Linked DNA regions of Homo sapiens: all the other regions are linked to region 1. Evidence: promoter capture Hi-C in 16 types of primary human blood cells and fetal thymus (Javierre and others, 2016). All regions are on one chromosome and are shown on one strand. The core of a region is centred on a gene start or on the middle of the fragment in contact, and the rest is flanking DNA. Distances in the headings are between cores, read along the strand shown.

Region 1 (2,827 bases), core at 214-2,713:
CATTTCCCCCAACACTAGTAACTCACTCTAACCATGCCAAGTCACTGCAACACCTTGCTTGCATCTGCAAATTTTTATCTATGTCTATATCAGAACCTCAGAAAACATGTTCATAGCTGAGACATTTTGCTCAAGACGAAATACAGTTTTATAGTCTATTAATTGTTGGTCCAAGAAAACAGATTACCTCCAGTTGTATGTGGGTACCTTAATGAGTAGGACAAGTGTCAGGGTGTGTGACAGAATTGCCTGAGTATGGAAGGTAGCAGTGAGAGTCTCCACAAAAATATTAATACTTTCCTATAGAGAAAGCCCCTTTTAAAGTGGGAGCCTTTATTAAAGTCCAGAGTTAAAAAGTAAGCTCTTTAACGTTGAGATTATAGACTTTTAGAAAGTTCATTTATGCCATGTTTCAGGCCTATGCTAAATTCTACGGCAAAAAGACCTGTAAATGCACCGGAGCTGACAGCCTGGGTCCTGGAACCCTTCCTCACGCTGCTACTACGGGGCACCCTTTCTATAATACAACCCCCCGAATGAAAACACTAATGCAAGCCTGGCCCCACAAAAACCTAGATAATGCTTACGTTGAAGACGACAGGTTTTTCGCTTTTGTTTTCGGTTGAGGACTTACTACCCCAAAAACACATCCGACCTGTACTAGAATAGGTGTGTGAGGGAGCGGGAAAAGCTCGGGTCATTTTAACTGGACTAGAAAGGAACACAGCGATCCCCTCACTAAACTTGTCGCCAAGTTCCCTCCTCGCCATCCCAGGGTGCGGGAAAAACCCCCTCCCGCCCCGGGGCCCCGGCAGCACTCGGGGACGCCAGCACGCCGGGCTCCTTCCCACCCGCGAACCGCGCTCCCCGCAGGGCGGGCCGGGGCGGGGAAAAAGGAGCTCGACGCGAAGGGCCGCGGGCGGCCTGGGAAGGGAGGAGGGAGACTTGGGAGGCTGCCGGGCGGTTTTATTGTTTCCTTTCGCCCTCCTCCTACCGCGCCTCCGCCCCAGCGTCACTGGAAAGCCGCCCGAGCCGCCCGGCGGCAGGTTATTTATAGCGCGGGCTGCGCGCGCGTCACGGAGCCCGGCCCGGCTGACGGGGCCGCTGACGCGCTTGGCCGCGGGGCCGAGTCCGCGGGGCTGCGCGCCGGACGCCGGCGACAATGGGCTTCTGTGTGCAGCTGCCGCAGCCGCCGGGGGCCGGGGGCCGGGGGCCGGGGGAGGGGGGCGGGCGACTCCCCGGCTCCCTTCTTGGTCGGCCGCGACCCCCCGAAAGGTAACAGGCCTCTTTCGCCCCCGGCCAGGACCTGGGCCCTGTGGGCTTTTTTTTTTTCCATTTTATCAGTAAGTTCCCCTTGTCCCAGCCTCCGCTTTCACTTCCCGCGTTCCCTCCACCCCAAAAACCGCCCCAACATGTCCAGAGAGGGGCATCTACCCAGCCGCCCAGCCAGGGGCGACCACTTTGTGAGCCCCGGGGAGCGGGACCCGTACCAGGCGCGCCCAGCGGGGGATGCGGTGACCGAGGGGCCGGGAGCGCCGGGCAGGTAACGTATCCTGGACCTAGAGTCGGGGGACTTTGTTTGGGGCGGGAGGAGCGGAACAGGGGTGGGTGTGAACGCCGGACGGCCCTTCCGGGACTCCTGTCCCCCCTCCTTCGCCCCACTCGCCTGCGCGCTGGAAGCCAATCTGGGTGTGTAGCGCGAAGAGCGAAAGAGAAACTTCTGCGTGACTGACTAGATGAGGCTCCTCCCGAGAAGCCGAGATAATAGAGGCCCCCTCTCCCGCCGCCCGCCTTTTTCTCCTCCCCCGGCCGCTCGCTCCTGTCGCCCCACCCCTCGAAGGCTGCGGACCAGCCCCCCACACTTCCCCCTACACCTCTGGCGGGTTCGCGCCGTGGACGCCCCCGCCCTGCGGGAGGAGGGGCTGGCGCGGATTTTAGGGACTTCCTGGGATGCGGAGATCGGCTCTGAACCATCCCCTTTCTGCTGCCCGGAGCTGGGGAAGCTCGCTGTGGAGCGTCTCGCACGTGGCAGGCAGGCAGAGAACTTGCTGCACCTTCTAGGAAATTGCAATCGATTTGTAATGCACTTTCGCTAATTGGGAGTTCAAAATTAAACTTTAATAAAGCATTCGTGTCGTCTCGTCTAATTGTGAAAGCTTCCATCCGTCCTGGTAGATAGACTCTAAGTCTCAAGTTAATGGCGCTAAGCTAGATTTTCCCCCCAAGTACAATTCCGTCAGCCGTCGTCGGCGCAGCTGGATTTCCGTAAGGTACAGATGTTGCTAATGACAGCTTAAGCACGGATGGGCAGATAGCATACGGAATGCAACATGTTGCCATATGGTTCCTTTAGCCTTTCACCTCCAGGGATATCAATCACATATATTCTGGGAGGAACTTAATGACTCTCTGAACAGCAAAATGAATTACCTGGTACAATTTATATCCCTTGACCTGATACGTTATAACAACAGGAAGATAGCATCTCGCAATTTCTGTGGTATAAATTGAACTACAGAGCTACATTTAAAATTCTACATCTATTTGTAGTTTAAGGGGCCCTGTCATATTCTGGCTGTAAAATCTGTTTCTGTATTGCCCATCTCCTTCCCCCTCCTACCTCTGGAGGAAGCAAAATTTATAAAGTTTAGCAAAACTGGTGTCGGAAATTGCCAGTCAACTGATTAATAGATGAAGTATGGAGAAATGGAAAATATGACTTCCAGAGCTACTTACTTCAACAAGAATTAGCCATCTTTAGGAACACCATACTTTTAAGCGTACAAAATTAAAGAACTCCAGAAAATGTATTTTCTGCTAGTTGTTT
Region 2 (2,827 bases), core at 166-2,665, 4.8 Mb before region 1:
GCCTCAAACTCCTGGGCTCAAGTGATCCTCTTACCTTGGCCTCCCAAAGTGCTAGGATTATAGGCATGACCCACCACGTCCAGCCATTTTTTAAAGGCCAAATTTCTAACTATGACGTTAACTACAAAGGCATTATTGAATCATGTCATAAATTACTCACATAGCAAGAGTAAGAGGGTAACACATCTGCAACACTTCAGTTTAAGACATCCAGGCCCCTTTCCTAGGTTAAGAATCAGTAGGAACTATTGAAATTAGATTACCTCTTCTCCAGGTTACAAGTCTTCCTTTGTAGACTATTCCTCTGTAAAGATGAAGACAGTTACACAGTTGTAAAGTGTTTTCCACAGGCTCTAACAATGCTGCTCAAACTGTCCAGAGCTCTCCCTTATGTTGAAGTGGGAACTTCCACTGAGAAATCCCCCAACTTGAAGACTTCCTTATTTGTAGCTAGCAACAGCCAATCATGGCACGATACTGAAATGAAGCAAAGACTATCAGAAAATATTCTGTAAACCACTCGTGACTGTAGCTCTGACTTCCTTTTGAAGCAAGATACTTTATGTGAATAGTTAAGGCATTTTAACAACAACAACAACAACAAAAACCCCAGGAATTGTAAACACAAAAATACTTTTGGATTAAGCATTTTATGTAAGAAAATTTAAAAGTTCAGTTTATTTGATAAGTGGCTTTTTAACCTTTAAGAAGTCGCTTTTTGACCTAAGAAGCATGTTTATAAACAGGAGGTAAAAACCAAATTTGATTATAGTTGTCTTTATGGCCTACAGAAGTCACTTGGAAGAAGCTTTGTAGTAATAAGGTTTAAGCTCAATTGCAGAGCCTGAGCTTAGGTACTCAGAAGAGAGGTGAAGCAAACAAGGCTCTTAAGACAGCTTTTCTGCCTTGAGAACTTAAGGTTCACTGTTCGTGGGATAAAAGTGTGTTCCAGCAAACTCGGGAAATGCTTTACAAATACATGTATTTCTCTTAGGTTGCTTAGAGCAAAACATCACATTTTACATGCAAACGGAAGACAGCATGTGCACCACAGACATTTTTCTTTGATATAAAATTTTAGAGCTGGAAATGTCCTTAGACAACATCTGTTCCATTTCCTTTTTATTACAGATGAGGGAAACAGGAGAAGGTAAATGCTCAATGTCACAAGTAAAGTTAGAAGCAGCGCTTAGATTAAAATGTGAGTCTTTTGAATCCAAGTGCATTTCTTTTTTTTACTGCACTACACTCTTGGCATATAAAGTTACTGAGCTGGATAAAAACTGAATTAAGCAGTCTCCTTTTTCAGCTCCTGCATTTTACAGATGAGAAGTCTGAGGCTTTACCTAAACTTCAACAGTTATTAAAAGGTCTAGAATTTAGAACTTCTGATTCTTAGTCTAGTTTGTTTTCCACTTTGAAACACTGCCCTCTCTTAAATTATATGTTAAATAAATCTGAGATATTGCTACTTATGATGAAATTATTCTATAAAAAATAATTTCAAAAGTATCTAAAATGCTGAATAAACTTATGATTAAAGGCTTCTACGTACTCATCTAACATACAATGAAGCATTACATTTCTTTTGGAACTATGGGTTTTATAACTATCTTACTGATGAAATGCTAAATATTAAATGCTATTGTGTGCAATGGAAAAATAAAACCAACCTATCCCGTGCTGTAAATATAGCAAAACAAACCAACAAAAAAGTGAGATAGCCACTAGTGAAAGGAAAACTTACTTCTTAAGAATTTACAGTTTTGAATGAGCAGAGTTTTAAAAACACAGCTTTTAAAAAAAGCAGCGCTCCTGTCTAGACTGGGAAATGCCCCTTTCTTTGGTCTCTTCATCCTGTGCCCCCTCCCTCCTCTATTTACTTTGGCATTTGAGCTTGGCTGACACCCAGGATCCTGCAGAACTGGCTACTCCAGGGTATGCTGGCCTCAATCTGGTGGGGCATTGTTTGAGAGAGGGTCCTACAGCCAAAACAGAGAAGCTACAGTTAGAGAAGCTTTTTGAAGAAATTCTGAGTACATGAAATTTAAAACCTATGCCACTAACCAGTTCTAGACTAGGCAAAATATGTGAGGCAGATGGAAGTTTTAATTTTTGTCGTCTCTAGTAGTTCCTTTTCCTATTTCCCTACTCCCCACCTTTTTCCTTCTCTTGGAGTCGTAAATCAAGTGACTAGGGCTGACAAAAATGCAGAAATTCCTTCAGAGGAGGAAGCAAACTGGTACTAAGCCAGGATTGGCAAGGGTTAGGGTATAATGACCAGGGCAGGAGTGGGATGAGCAGCTCCAAGCCCAAGTTAGAGGGTGGGAGGCAAAACTCAGGTTCCTATTCAGGGAGAGAAGAATGGCTGAGGGGAGTTACTAGTCAAAGAATGCGGACATCACTGCCCGGGGGCAGCAGGATTCTCAGGGCAGGTCTGGTCGAAAGGCCTCCCTAAGAAGAATCCTGGAAATTTTTTTTTTAGTGAAAGTGGAGAGCAAGAAAGCCAGGTCTCTTAATTGCTAACTAGGATTTAGAAATAGGTTCCCTCCTTCGGAGGGAGACCCAGGTGCCTGCGACTCTGGCCAAGTAGCTAGTTAGGTAGCCAGGCTGCATGGGGTGGGTGTTTGATTGAGAAACTTGGTTCAGATGATCACATGGACACCTACAGGACGAATTCATGCTCTAGGCACAGTATTTGTGAAAACAGCATGTTTTCCAGGCTCTACTTGCTGGTGGGCTGATGCTTCAGGATTTTATTGGCCTGTGGCCACAGCAGGGCTGATGCTAAGGGGAATTGAGACCTGCAGGGATGATAGATGCTCTT
Region 3 (2,827 bases), core at 134-2,633, 4.5 Mb after region 1:
CCAGGGTAAAGTCCTGCGCCTTCCGCAGTCTTGGTTATGCAAATAAGCGAGGACAGGGCGGGCGCCCTTTCCTACGCTCCGCCCCTCTGGCCGCGCGCCTGCGCACTCACGTCCCTCCAGGCCCGCCCCTTCACTTCCCCCGCCCGCGTGGTCGTCGCCACCGCAGCCGCCCGAGAGGAGCTGGGGGAGGACGGTGGCCCGCGAGGCTCGTCGCAGACAACGCGGCGGCGATGTCCGCGAGCCAGGCGAGTGCCGCGGCGGCAGCGGCGGGGCCTTGCGCGCGGCAGGGCGGCCTGGGCTTCGGCCTCCCTCCGGTTCCCTGGAAGCGGGCCCGCGACCAGCGCGGGAGCAGCAGCAGAGGCGGAGGCTCCAGCGCGTCTCTCTCCTCCCCCTCAGCCTGAGCCGGGGGAAGCCAGGCGGCCCGGGTGTCTGGAGGGGGGGGGTCCGCTGCCCGAGAATGGGAATTCTCTTCACTAGAATATGGAGACTGTTCAATCACCAGGGTGAGGAGCTCGGTCCGCGGGCGTACGGGTTGGGGAGAGGGTCAGCTCGGGCCGGCTAGGTGGGGGTCTCCGAATACTTCGGAATGTGGGCGGCTCGGTCGGGCGCCAGCTCAGCGCGGGGTGCAGGCTGCGCGGATACGGGCCCGGGACGGTTCGGTCCCGGCTCCCGAGCTTGGGGATGGTTCCTGACTCGCAGCCCTTTGTCTTAGGAGACCTTCCTAAGAAGTCTTTTCCGTAATAGACCCATTGCTCCGATTTCGAATGAGAGTGGTAAAGGTTTCTTGCCCTAGGTCCGACGTCCCTGAGTAGCACGGCCTGGCCTGTCTTTCAGCCCTTTCTTTGCTCACCAGTTGTGTTTGGACACCACATAGAAGTGCTGGGGTCTTCTGGAATGAAGGTTATAGATTGCTGCCCTAACCGCACCACTGAGCGACCGAGGGTTGCAGAATGCGGAAAACGGGAGGAATCGCTCGACTTGTCCATTACACCTCTGGTTTATGAGCCTGCCCTCCACTGCCACCCGTCTTTGTGTGTGTTGGGGGCAGGGGGGGTTCTTCTGCCTCCTGAATAGAGATGGACTTCTCTCCATTTGTTTTACTTATTATATCTGTGTTTAAGGTTAAGCTTAAGGTCATTTTTCTACTCGTGTGGGTTATTAGACACAGTTTTTGTTTGTTTTGCTGGGTTAAAAATGTTAAAGTGTTTCACTGAAAGTTTTAAAAACATACCATATGAAACATTTGTTAACCATAGGTAACTAGCAAGTTACTAAGTGTAAAGTGTGTTATATAGGGATGCTTAAGTTCAGCCAACTTCAGACATGGCCATGAAATACCTATCAGGCTTGTTAAAATTTGTTACAAAATGACTAAAACTGGGGAAAGAGAATACAATTTTAACCCAAAGACTGGATACTTATTAAGATACAGTGGTGTACTTTTGTTTCTTTTTAACTCAAGTTGGGTGGTTCATCATTCCGCTGTCAGGAACTTAGTTTGTGTTTTTCTGTTGTGTAAGCTGATGGTGTCACGTCCCAGTTTTCCAATAAAGACTTACGTGAATGGTGGCATCTATTATGTACACCTACTACTACCACCTCCTCCTTCATGATCTAGCTGCTCTTTTAAGAAGCTTAGGGGAAGCAAGCAGAACTAGAACTTGTGATCCCTAATGTATCTTTTACGCACACACACACACACACAGATGTGTAGGTCACGTGATACCGAAAGAAAGGGCAGTATCAATTTTTCTGATAAGAGGATTTTTCATAAAGTAGAGAAAATCAGTTCTAATCAGCACTGTCTCTGACTGGACTGGCTGTTAGTGTTGGGAGCAGGAGAGTGGGAAGCAGTCACTTGAACTCTCAGGTTTTCTGGTCTAGGTTTTCTCACCTAGAACACCAGGGATCTGTGGAGCTTCCAAATCTTGTAAACTTTATTTCTACATTGCAAATATTAAAACGTACATTGCTGTAAGACTGATGGTACTTATAGTAGATAAGATCTATTCTAGTTTTAACATCCATCATTTTGTATTATTTTTAGCAAAGCTAGTGTTTCATCTGCTGTGAGGTTTAGCAAGACTGTGAATTGAGCTCTAGTGCTGCCAGAAAAAGAGTTATCACCACTTTCTATTTTGAGTCAATGATAAAATTATTTGTTTCTGTAAGTTAAGAATAAATGAGAACTTTGCCAACAGCTCCTTGGAGTAGTAAATAATAAGGGTGTGTGCTCTGGTATCACTACAAATTGCTAATAGTAGTGTTTTTATAACCTGTATTTTGTGGTAATTTTTGACGGGACATTTATGGCAGTTTGGCGGAAATTAATAGAGAAATTAATGAAGTTAAGTTCTAGAAAATTAGATATGAATATTGTGAAAGTGTGAATAAATTATTTATTTTCTGCTAAACAGTGTGGCTGTCTTATCAATAGGGTCACTTTTCCGAATATCCACCATTTAATCTAATGCCAGATATTTGTTGGGTTTTGTTTTTGTTTTTGTTTTTTTGAGATGGAGTCTTGCTCTGTCACCAGGCTGGAGTGCAGTGGTGTGATCTTGGCCCACTGCAACCTGTGCCTCCTGGGTTCAAGCGATTCTCCTGCCTCAGCCTCCCGAGTGGCTGGACTACAGGTGCGTGCCACCACACCCAGCTAATTTTTGTATTTTTTGTAGAGATGGGGTTTCACCACGTTGGCCAGAATGGTCACCATCTCTTGACTTCGTGATCCACCCGCCTTGGGCTCCCAAAGTGCTGGGATTACAGGCCTGAGCCATGGTGCCCAGCAGGGTTGTTTTTTTTTTTTTCTGTATAGGACATATAT
Region 4 (2,827 bases), core at 207-2,706, 3.6 Mb after region 1:
TGTAAATAAATAGAATCTGAAAATAGCTATTGTTTTGGTTTAGAGCGAATTTTATTCCTGAAATATCTTCCTCTTTGTGTGTTGGAGGAGGGTGAGGGAGGGTGGGGAGTTTGTGCTCTATAATTCTGATTCTTCATAGGACAGTGCCAATAGGTAGTTCATTTTCCACTTATACTATTTTTTTTTAATGCTTGTTGCTTCTACACTCCTGCTTATGAGCTGTCCCTTCCATCTCTAGCATAAATTGTAAATGGACATTTTGTAGGAGTGATTTGGATCAAAAGGTTTTAATGCTGATTCAGTGATTTCGGTAGAACTGAGTTTCTAGAGAAGCATCCAAGAAAGGTAACAGGTTCAGTTACCATGAGTAATTTTGTGCTTCATGTTAAGTTCTATAATAGATCTTTAGGTGGCTGGGTTATTTCCATTTGAGTATTTCCATAAATCATCAAAAATTTAGGCTAACAAAATATTTTGGAAGCCAATTTCATGTGATCTTTTGCTAATTAGTACTGTTTGATAATTGTTTAAGCTTTCATGGTTAAAGTTATTGGTGAAATTGCAGTGGGAAAAGGAGCTTGCTATGTGTCTGTCTCTTTTTACTTAACCTTAAGAGTAGAAGGGCTTAATGTCCAGTGATTTTCCTCTTTTTTTTTTTAATTTGGAATATTGCCCTTAATTTTGTTAAAAAACAAAACAAAACCTTTATTCAAAGGCACCAGCCCCAAAAGATTCTGCTTGCAGGAGTTCTTTAAATAAAAGAGCCTTTTATTCTGTTACTCTAGAATAACACAAATTTTAAAACTCTCTAGGTGATGGAGAAACAACTTTGATTCCTCTTCTGTTTCTTTCCATCTCTAAGGAGCAAGGAGCTCTTCTTGTTTTCTTGGTAGAGCTGCTCTAACTAGATAATGAGCTTTAAAAATATTTATTCTTTAAATGCTCTGGTTCTTATTTAAAATTAGTTTCTTTCCACAGAAAGATAAAATAAAACAATTTGCTACTGCCAGATGCTTCTCTCTTTTCTGGGGCCTTCTGTTTCCATTGGGCCAATCAAGGTAAGTTTTGCAAGGGATTGACCTGCTTACCCTTGCTGTAATGGTGCTATTGCACTACCAAAACCAAGATACCAGCTAGTCATAGTTCTAGTTAAAAAAAAAAATGCAGATTTTATTTTTTAAAAGTACTTTCATGTATCTCATTGACATAAGCTGGTCACAGTTTGCTTTATGGCCCTTTCTCTTTAGCTGTATCAGTGACCATCTTTCTAGTAAGTTTACTTGCTACTCGGTACACATCCATTCAAATAACTGATTTTTTTGGTGTGGTTTTCTTCTACTTTTTCCTAGGCTAATATATGCCACGTGCCTTTAAGTAGACCTAATTATTTAGATGTTTAGAATTCTTCTCCCTCTGAAGGCTCCTGTTAGTATAATAAATAAATGTTTTAGTAGGAGTTATGCCCTGAAAGTCCCAAAAGAATCTCCGCTGTTTTTGTCAGAATTATATAATTCCCTTTTATCCCCTTAATATTTCACTAACAAATATGGGTCCCAAATCTTGGTAAAACAAATTCTTGTTTTAGCTTTATAACAGACTGGGAGAGCATGGATAATTTGAATTCTCAAATCAGAAATCATATTTGAAACTCTGTAAACATTGCTTTAAAAATTAAAGGTGATAATAAATAGGACAATTGATCCTTTTTCCTGCATTATTTCTTCTGCCACTCTTGGAAGTACTCAGGAGGAATAAGTGGTCAGAAGATAATTGAGAAGAAGCAGGATGTCTGTCTGTATCATTCACAGTAGTGACAGTTGGGAGGGTTCTGCCATGCAATTTAAAAAAGTCAGTTCACAAATTCTTTAGACTTTGGGACTGAAGGTTATAAAAACCTTCATGTGTTGACTGGTTTGCATGAACATCTCATGCTGGGACTAGCTAAAGACTAAAATTGGTGGCAGTCTTACTTGCCAAATAATTGTGGTCTTTGGAATGTTACCAATATGACATGAAACTGTAAAACTTGTTTGTAAAATAATATGCAGACTGGGTAGCATAATGATGTACGGAAGCCAGGGTTCATAATTTCTCAAATGCATCAAGCTATTTAGCTTAAAGAAGTGGTGTGTTCAAATTTTTTTTTTCTTAATTCATGAGATGACCTAGAGTGCCATCTCATGCATTTAGGCTGACTCTTAGTAGTAATAAATATTTGATGATTATCAAATTGAGCTTAATATTCTTTCAGGTTTATTTCAGTTTTCTATCTTGTAGATTAAATTTGCCTCTTATTCTATATAACTTTATAGGAAAGTCATACTTTTAGAGTTATAGGATCTTATAGCTGAAAGGGACCTTACAGGTTGTTTAAGCTTTAAATAATATGTGATTTAAGATGCTTTGAGGATCACTGGTTAAATGTTAGTAAAGAAAGATAAAGAATTTTCCCTGCTGGATGGCAGTACTCAAAAATTTCCCATTGGGAGGCTGAGGCGGGTGCATCGCTTGAGCTCAGGAGTTGGAGACCAGCCTGGGCAACATGGTGAAACCCCATCTCTACAAAAACTATTTAAAAATAAGCTGGGTGTGGTGGTGTGCGTCTGTCGTCCCAGCTACTTAGGGGGCTGAGGCAGAAGGATTGCTTGAACCTGGGAGGTCGAGGCTGCAGTGAGTCAAGATCACGCCTTGCACTCCATCCTGGGTGACAAAGTGAGACCCTATCTCAAAAAAATAAAGATTTTCTGTAGAGATTTCTATCAATAAAATTATGTGTGAGGCTGTCTTCTTCCTCAGTGTCCATAGTAAATACTGTTTTCATGTCTTT
Region 5 (2,827 bases), core at 211-2,710, 3.4 Mb before region 1:
AGTGATGCCATCTTGGATCTCCCAGCCAGGGAAATCCTCCAGCTGAATGCTGGTACATGAGGAGTAAGCCCCGGGCAAAATCAGTAGAACTGCCCAACAGGCACCTAGAACTGTAAAAAACAGTGAACAGTTGTTTTAATCCACTAGGTCCCGAGGTGGTTTGTTATGCAGCCATAGAACAAAGATTCATTACTTATCCTTATTTTCTACTGTTACCATACCATTATCTTATGCCTGCAGTCTCTGAAAACTCTGATTTTAACTGAGTCTAACCTGGGAACTATCTTAAATATCCAGGGAAGATTACAGGTACTGAATTACTAAAAGTACACCACTACTATAGGATAAACTCATGGCACAAAGGCCAGAGCAATCACACAAAATACCAATGTAATCTATCATTTTTTTTTTTGGAGACAGGGTCTCACTCTGCTGCCCAGGCCAGAGTGCAGTGGTGCAATCACTGCAGCCTCGACCTCCTGGGTTCAAGTGATCCTCCCACCTCAGCCTCCTGAGTAGCCTGGACTACAGGCACGCACCACCATACCCAGCTAATTGTTGTATTTTTTTTAGTAGAGACGGGGTTTCATCATGTTGCCCAGGATGGTCTTGAACTCCTGAGCTCAAGCAATCTGCCTGTCTCGGCCTCCCAAAGCGCTGGGATTACAGGAGTGAGCCACCATGCCCAGCCCCAATGCAATATTTCAAGAGTCTTGCAGAAATACAAACACGCAGTTACTATTTCATTATTTACATATACTTTGCATATCCTTTTCTTAAAAAAAAAAATCTGCTTCTGGGGAAATTTTTTTTTTCCTTAGTGGGAAATCATAGTAAACATGGAGACATGGAAGCTAAGGGTGGGTCAATGAGGGAATCACTTTGAAAGTATACAACATTTTGGGCCTTAAAAAAAAGTCTCCCTTAACTAACTTTTAGCTGACAAATACTTAAAACACAAAAATATGACATGCCCAAATCTTAAAAAATTAGAAAAAAGCTTAACATCCCATGAGAAAATATGACTATGATGTTAAGTCTACACTACACCACTGTAAAAGGCAAACTGTTCTCCTTGAAATGAATTTAATCTCTAAGCATCAAGTTTCGATCTTAAGTAGAAACCATTTTAGGGTTCTTTCTACAAAGTATGAAACATCACACTAATGAACAATGATCATAATGGAAAGATAACTACTTTTAAGGTTCAAAACTTGCCTTCTTTTTAAGCTGTTGACAAAAATGGGTGTAGAGCAGCAGGTGATTTTAAAACCAGGTGTTCAACTTACCTAGTCTAACCGGTAGAGTCAGAGAAATATATTTGAGGGCAGGAAAAACCAGCTCTGACCATGTAAGTTCATGCCAGGGCAGAAAGCTGAAAATTAAGATTAATGAAAATTAAACCCCAGCATGCAGTGACTCACACTCAGGCCTGTAATCACAGCGCTTTGGGAGGCTGAGGTGGGAGGATTCCTTGAGCTAAGGAGTTGGAGACCAGCCTGGGAAACATGGTGAAACTGTCTCTATAAAAAAATATAAAAATTAGTCAGACATGGTGGCGCGCACCTGTAGTCCCAGCTACCCAGGAAGCTGAGGTGGGAGAACTGCTTGAGTCTGGGAGACTGCGGCTGCAGCAGCCTAAAAAACAGAGTGAGACCCTGTCACACACTCACACACACAAAATTATTACCCCCCCCACCTAAACTCTCAAATTATAATTTCATTCTCCCCAACTTCAGACTTTTTGGCTCATCCTATGATTAGCAAATGCTGTATATTAAGATAAATTTTTTGACTGCAATTGAATTCTGCTTTGGTGAATTCAAGTAATCTTAGTAGGAACTCAAAATCCGATTCTTTTTAAATTGTAATCATTCTAATGTGATCAGTTGATTCACTTATTTAACAGTTAAAAGCTTCATTAGTTAATTTGTTGTTTAAAAGTAAAGTCTAATGCAACGCTGTGCATTTCATTCATTCATGTCCCATTGTTCTTTATTACTGGCACTTAATTATCTGTGGTAACAGAAGGATGTATCAGCAAAGATTATCTAAAAATTATTTTTATTTTGTTAAGGAACACAATAGCTCTCCATTCCGCAGCATAGAGCACTAACTTTATTTTTATTTTTTTAGAGACAGGGTCTCACTCTGTGGTGCAGGCTGGAGTGCAGTGGAGCTCTATCATACCTCACTGCAGTCTCTGCAACTCGTGAGCTCAAAATGATCGTTCTGCCTCAGCAGCCCAAGTAGCTAGTAGTAGCAGTGCGCACCACTACACCCGCACCACCATGCCCGTAGAGATGGGGTCTTTGTGGCCTGGCTGAACTCCCAGCCTTAAGCGATCCTCCCACCTTGGCCTCCCAAAGTGACGGGATTACAGGAGTGAGCCACCACACCCAGACACTAATTTTCTAGTACAGTACAGAAAGTCTTTTATGTCGGGCTCTAACTTACCATTCAATGTATGTTTCAGCTACAGGAACAAATCATGAATTCCTAAAACAAACCATAATATCATGACTTTGCAGTTTCTTTATCAAAGTCCTAGTGAGCCTTCACATCTTAGTTCAGGCAATAAATAAATAAATCCTGTAAAATTTCCAAGATTAAGCACCCCTCCCCTATGCTCCCACAGAACCACTGTACAGTCATATTAAGATAATAATAGTTGTTTATACATTAGTCTGATGACTAAACAGTGAGTTGTGGAGGGCAGATGCCATGTCAAGCTCATTCTTGTAATGTGAAGCTCTCCATAATTTGTAATTTGACTACAACAAATTACAAATTATCTAAAAAAGTTTTAAGATATTTGACAGATTTT

What was found. The method cuts DNA at HindIII sites, captures the fragments that hold promoters and counts their contacts. A CHiCAGO score of 5 or more calls a contact.
Region 2: a fragment that was not itself captured here is called in contact with the fragment with the promoter of FLJ46875 in region 1 in 1 of 17 cell types (non-activated CD4 T cells); the score reaches 5.5 in non-activated CD4 T cells.
Region 3: a fragment that was not itself captured here is called in contact with the fragment with the promoter of FLJ46875 in region 1 in 4 of 17 cell types (non-activated CD4 T cells, activated CD4 T cells, total B cells and 1 more); the score reaches 9.6 in non-activated CD4 T cells.
Region 4: a contact is called between a fragment that was not itself captured here and the fragment with the promoter of FLJ46875 in region 1, in 2 of 17 cell types (total B cells and total CD8 T cells). The highest score is 9.7, in total B cells.
Region 5: a fragment that was not itself captured here is called in contact with the fragment with the promoter of FLJ46875 in region 1 in 1 of 17 cell types (total CD4 T cells); the score reaches 5.7 in total CD4 T cells.

The regions. Positions count from the first base shown.
Region 1 is chr2:156,340,756-156,343,582 of GRCh38, reverse strand. It overlaps FLJ46875 (a long non-coding RNA gene), which reads left to right and starts at 1,463. Exons shown (of 1, transcript NR_147695.1): 1 at 1,463-2,827. RefSeq lists enhancers at 182-241, 1,449-2,002, 2,003-2,558 and silencers at 652-1,261, 1,802-1,901. The HindIII fragment of the contact is 3,407 bases long and covers 1-2,158 here.
Region 2 is chr2:161,134,500-161,137,326 of GRCh38, reverse strand. All of the region lies in intron 2 of TANK-AS1 (TANK antisense RNA 1), which reads left to right. It also overlaps a transcript of TANK not described here. Among named protein-coding and RNA genes, the nearest start is that of TANK-AS1, 24 kb to the left of the region's middle. RefSeq lists an enhancer at 190-529. The HindIII fragment of the contact is 1,209 bases long and covers 811-2,019 here.
Region 3 is chr2:151,825,807-151,828,633 of GRCh38, reverse strand. ARL5A (ARF like GTPase 5A) reads left to right here and starts at 213. Exons shown (of 6, transcript NM_012097.4): 1 at 213-503. The coding sequence starts at 458. RefSeq lists silencers at 1-497, 548-597. The HindIII fragment of the contact is 507 bases long and covers 1,130-1,636 here.
Region 4 is chr2:152,712,781-152,715,607 of GRCh38, reverse strand. The region is part of intron 2 of PRPF40A (pre-mRNA processing factor 40A); the gene reads left to right. Among named protein-coding and RNA genes, the nearest start is that of PRPF40A, 3.3 kb to the left of the region's middle. The HindIII fragment of the contact is 1,843 bases long and covers 535-2,377 here.
Region 5 is chr2:159,714,229-159,717,055 of GRCh38, reverse strand. It overlaps MARCHF7 (membrane associated ring-CH-type finger 7), which reads right to left. Exons shown (of 12, transcript NM_001282805.2): 2 at 2,458-2,499; 3 at 1,290-1,375. Among named protein-coding and RNA genes, the nearest start is that of MARCHF7, 3.1 kb to the right of the region's middle. The HindIII fragment of the contact is 916 bases long and covers 1,003-1,918 here.